2 separate regions of the Homo sapiens genome follow, and region 1 is linked to region 2. Evidence: promoter capture Hi-C in human tissues and cell types (Jung and others, 2019). All regions are on one chromosome and are shown on one strand. The core of a region is centred on a gene start or on the middle of the fragment in contact, and the rest is flanking DNA. Distances in the headings are between cores, read along the strand shown. Region 1 has its middle 26 kb from the start of VSX1. Region 2 holds the start of ENTPD6 (ectonucleoside triphosphate diphosphohydrolase 6).

Evidence for each region. The method cuts DNA at HindIII sites, captures the fragments that hold promoters and counts their contacts. A contact is called where the count stands out against the background at its distance.
Region 1: a fragment that was not itself captured here is called in contact with the fragment with the promoter of ENTPD6 in region 2 in 2 of the 25 tissues and cell types used here (H1 embryonic stem cells and aorta).

The regions. Positions count from the first base shown.
Region 1 is chr20:25,107,253-25,109,952 of GRCh38, reverse strand. No RefSeq gene overlaps it. Among named protein-coding and RNA genes, the nearest start is that of VSX1, 26 kb to the right of the region's middle. The HindIII fragment of the contact is 9,109 bases long and covers 1-2,700 here.
Region 2 is chr20:25,194,262-25,196,961 of GRCh38, reverse strand. ENTPD6 (ectonucleoside triphosphate diphosphohydrolase 6) reads right to left here and starts at 1,250. Exons shown (of 15, transcript NM_001247.5): 1 at 1,095-1,250. It overlaps LOC101926889 (a long non-coding RNA gene), which reads left to right and starts at 70. Exons shown (of 6, transcript NR_109994.1): 1 at 70-339. RefSeq lists enhancers at 105-254, 635-704, 1,555-1,794 and a silencer at 995-1,414. The HindIII fragment of the contact is 8,888 bases long and covers 1-2,700 here.

The DNA.
Region 1 (2,700 bases), core at 137-2,636, 87 kb after region 2:
GGCTTAGGATTGTCTTGTCAATGCGGGCTCTTCTTTGGTTCCATATGAACTTTAAAGTAGCTTTTTTCCAATTCTGTGAAGAAAGTCATTGGTAGCTTGATGGGGATAGCATTGAATCTATAAATTACCTTGGGCAGTATGGTCATTTTCACGATATTGATTCTTCCTATCCATGAGCATGAAATGTTTTTCTGTTTGTTTGTGTCCTCTTTTATTTCATTGAGCAGTGGTTTGTAGTTCTCCTTGAAGAGGTCCTTCACATCCCTTGTAAGTTGGATTCCTAGGTATTTTATTATCTTTGTAGCAATTGTGAATGGGAGTTCGCTCATGATTTGGCTCTCTGTTTGTCTGTTTATTGGTGTATAAGAATGCTTGTGATTTTTGCACATTGATTTTGTATCCTGAGACTTTGCTGATGTTGCTTATCAACTTAAGGAGATTTTGGGCTGAGGCGATGGGGTTTTCTAGATATTCAATCATGTCATCTGCGAACAGGGACAATTTGACTTCCTCTTTTCCTAATTGAATATCCTTTATTTCTTTCTCCTTCTTGATTGCCCTGGCCAGAACTTCCAACACTATGTTGAATAGGAGTGGTGAGAGAGAGCATCCCTGTCTTGTGCCATTTTCAAAGGGAATGCTTCCAGTTTTTGCCCATTCAGTATGATATTGGCTGTGGGTTTGTCATAAATAGCTCTTATTATTTTGAGATATGTCCAATCACTACCAAATTTATTGAGAGTGTTTAGCATGAAGGGCTCTTGAATTTTTTTGAAGGCCTTTTCTGCATCTATTGAGATAATCATATGGTTTTTGTCTTTGGTTCTGTTCATATGATGGATTAATTTTATTGATTTGTGTATGTTGAAGCAGCCTTGCATCCCAGGGATGAAATGGACTTGATCGTGGTGGATAAGCTCTTTGATGTGCTACTGGATTCGGTTTGCCAGTATTTTGTGGAGGATTTTTGCTTCGGTGTTCATCAGGGATATTGGTGTAAAATTCTCTTTTTCGTTGTGTCTCTGCCAGGCTTTGGTATCAGGATGATCCTGGCTTCATAAAATGAGTTAGGGAGGATTCCCTCTTTTTCTATTGATTGGAATAGTTTCAGAAGGAATGGTAGCAGCTCCTCTTTGTATCTCTGGTAGAATTCAGCTGTGAATCCGTCTGGTCCTGGACTTTTTCTGGTTGGTAGGCTATTAATTATTGCCTCAATTTCAGAGCCTGTTATTGGTCTCTTCAGGGATTCAACTTCTTCCTGGTTTAGTTTTGGGAGGGTGTATGTGTCCAGGAATTTATCCATTTCTCCTAGATTTTCTAGTTTATTTGCGTAGAGGTGTTTATAGTATTCTCTGATGATAGTTTGTATTTCTGTGGGATCAGTGGTCATATCTCCATTATCATTTTTTATTGTGTCTATTTGATTCTGCTCTCTTCTCTTCTTTATTAGTCTTGCTAGTGGTCTATCAGTTTTGTTGATCTTTTCAAAAAACCAGCTCCTGGATTCATTGATTTTTTAAGGGTTTTTTTGTGTCTCTGTCTCCTTCAGTTCTGCTCTGATCTTAGTTATTTCTTGCCTTCTGCTAGCTTTTGAATGTGTTTGCTCTTGCTTCTCTAGTTCTTTTAATTGTGATGTTAGGGTGTCAATTTTAGATCTTTCCTGCTTTCTCTTGTGGGCATTTAGTGCTGTAAATTTCCCTCTACACACTGCTTTAAATGTGTCCCAGAGATTCTGGTATGTTGTGTCTTTGTTCTCATTGGTTTCAAAGAACATCTTCATTTCTGCCTTCATTTCTTTATTTACCCAGTAGTCATTCAGGAGCAGGTTGTTCAGTTTCCATGTGGTTGTGTGGTTTTGAGTGAGTTTCTTAATCCTGAGTTCTAGTTTGATTGCACTGTGGTCTGAGAGACAGTTTGTTATAATTTCTGTTCTTTTACATTTGCTGAGGAGTGCTTTACTTCCAACTACATGGTTAATTTTGGAATAAGTGCAATGTGGTGCTGAGAAAAATGTATATTCCATTGATTTGGGGTGGAGAGTTCTGTAGATGTCTGTTAGGTCTGCTTGGTGCAGAGCTGAGTTCAATTCCTGGATATCCTTGTTACCTTTCTGTCTCATTGATCTGTCTAATGTTGATAGTGGGGTGTTAAAGTCTCCCATTATTATGGTGCGGGAGTCTAAGTCTCTTTGTAGGTCTCTTAGGACTTGCTTTATGAATCTGGGTGCTCCTGTATTGGGTGCATATATATTTATGATAGTTAGCTCTTCTTATTGAATTGATCCCTTTACCACTATGTAATGACCTTCTTTGTCTTTTCTGATATTTGTTGGTTTAAAGTCTGTTTTATCAGAGACTAGGATTGCAACCCCTGCTTTTTTTTTTTGTATTCCATTTGCTTGGTATATCTTCCTCCATCCCTTTATTTTGAGCCCATGTGTGTCTCTGCATGTGAGATGGGTCTCCTGACTACAGCACACTGATTGTTCTTAACTCTTTATCCAATTTGCTAGTCTGTGTCTTTTAATTGGGGCATTTAGCCCATTTACATTTAAGGTCAGTATTGTTATGTGTGAATTTGATCCTGTGACTGTGATGTTAGCTGGTAATTTTGCTCATTAGTTGATGCAGTTTCTTCCTAGCATCAATGGTCTTTACAATTTGGCATGTTTTTGCAGTGGCTGGTACTGGTTGTTCCTTT
Region 2 (2,700 bases), core at 1-2,500:
AGGGGAGGCGCTTCCAGATCTCCTGACACAAAGGGCTGCCCACCTCCCTGGTCCTTTACCCGAACCTTCAGGAGGCAGACGACACACACACTAGCCAGCCACTCTCTCCAAGGCAAGGGGAGGGGGACAAAAAGCAATTTTGAGATTTGTACAGTGCTTGCCAGGTCCTTCAAAAATGACTACCGGCCGCCCATGGCTCTTGCACAGCGGGTGGGAGGAAGAGTCCTTGTAATCCACCTCTCCCAAGGAACTCCTGCGCGAGGTTTCAGATTCCCCGCCTGCAGGCTATGGCTGACTTCCCCGTATCCTGTGTGACGTGGGATGTGTGGCTTCGCGCAGGTAAGGCTGGAATACAGGTGCCTGGAGGGACACCCAGAGCTGCCCAGGCACTTCCCGGCGGCTGCTTCCTTTGCACTTTGCACTTACAGGTGCACTTATAATAAAAACACCCTCCCTTCCACGCTCCCCTGGGCCCTCCCATCTCTCCTTCCTCTTCCACGCTCTCCTGGCTGTTGAATGTTTTCCACTGAAGGAGTCTAGTCTGTCCACCTAGGGGGCTCTCCCTCCCTCGGTCCAGGGCATTCGCGGCTCACAGGTCAGCTCGGGCAGAACCGCCCTGACCACCTATGAGCTCCTCGGGACACCACCCCAATGCCAGGGTGAATCGTCCTTACACCCTCAGTCCTGTCCGAGCGGCCTGATCCTACCTGTTTCCCAGAAACTGCTACGCGAAGCTTCCCCGCCGGGCTCATCCAGGGCGGAGGGGTCTGTCCCTGACGCAGACTGGGGGCGGGTCCGCAAAAGCGGGCTGAATGAATGAACGCAGCAGGGCTGGGGCCCCCTGGGGCTACAGGCCCCTGCTATTTGGCCCGCCCTGTGGCCCAAAACACTGGACTTGCCCCCCACCGGTCAGCGGAGCCCAGACATCCAGGGAGCCCTAATGGAGCCTGGACAGGAAGGCAGCAGGAGGTGGGACCCGGGGTGCGAGTGACCCCGAGGCCGTCCTCCGGAGCGCAGCGCGCCCGCGTGGGGGAGGCCCGCCTACAGTCGGTGATCCCCGGCCGCCCCCGCCAGCGCCCCGGCCCGCCGCTTACCATGCACCGCGCGCTCCGCCACACCCACGGAGACGAGTGCCCTTTTCCGGGGAGCAGGCGGCAGCCGGTCTTTTGGGCTCCCCCGCCCCGGCCGGCGCCACCCCGGCCTCCACCCGCGGGATACGACCCCACGATTCCCTAGGGCCTGGGCTCCGCCCCATGCACGTGGCGTCACAGGCTGGGCGGGGGGGCGCACCCAGCCGCGCATGCGCAGGCGGGAGAGGAGGTGGGGGTCGGGGGACCCAGTTGCGCAGGCGCGGGCGGAGTATGGGTGCTCAGCTGCGTAGGCGCGATGGCCTTCTTTTCTTTCTGCAGGTGGCCTTGCGGTTTTCTCCAGTCCACAGCCGGGCTGGCGTCGGCCCAGAGAGGGGGGCTCGGCAGTCTGGTTCCCCGAGCGTCTCATGGCGGGCCCTCGCCAGATTCAAGGGGTTCCCTTGGCCAGTTTCCTTACGGCGCGGCGGAGCTGGCCCTCGTCGTCCCTGGTAGGGGGCAGCCTCACAGCCTGGACCGGCCTGTGCAATTTCCCCCATCCCTCCACGTCTACATTTTATTTTTTTCTTTTTCTTTTTTTAGGACAATGCATGATGGAAATGCAGCCACATCATAGCAGGCAGGTTCATGAAATCTGCCCTCCTCCCACCGTTTCTTGACCCCATTTTCTTATTTTTTTTTTTAACAGGTTCTCACCCAGGCTGGAGTGCAGTGATGTGGTCTCAGCTCACTGCAACCTCTGCCTCCCGGGTTCAAGCGATTCTGTTGCCTCAGCTTCCTGAGTAGCTGGGATTACAGGTGTGCGCCACCACGCCTGGCTAATTTTTGTACCTTTAGTAGTGACGAGGTTTCGCCCTGTTGGTCAGGCTGGTCTCGAACTCCTGACCTAAGGTGATCCGCCTGCCTCGGCCTCCCAAAGTGCTGGGTCTATAGGCATAAGCCACCACACCCGGCCCTTGACCCCATTTTCTGTCTTCCTAGAAATCACCAAGGTTGCAACTCCTGACTGTCCTGGCTCACAGGCTCCAGCTTACTTAAGGACCCCACGGTGGGGGCTGCCCACTTGCACACCTATGCTAGGCGCCCTCATTCCCGCAAGGGCCAGAGCCCCTTCCCGGCCCATGGCGTCTGGCCAAGGAGGTGTGGGTGCGCCCCAGCCAGGCCTGGTCCTAGAGGACGGCCCCACCTGCGCACTGGGGCATCTGGGAGAGCTATTAGTGGAAGAAGCCCAGGTTCCTGAAGCACCAAGTGGGCAAGAGTTTATTTTCAGGATGGGACGCTTTTGAGGGTGAATAAGTGCTAGCTGTATGGGATGCGGGGACAGTACACAGGCCCGGCCTGGCAGCCGGGCAATGCGGTGCCTGTTGGAAGGTCGCCCACAAGCACCTGGTTGGACACTGCCACTGAGATTTGGTTATTACAGAGGTTAGCCTATGCGGGCCTTCACTGATGGACCTTGAAGTGTTTCCCAGTTGCTTTGGGTTAGGAATAATGTGACTGGATCCCGTGGATTGTCTTTGTGCATGCATGTGGGTATATCTGTCAGAAATATTCTTAGAGGTGGAATTGGCTATGGTGGGATATGTCCTTTAAAATAATATATTAGCCAAACGTG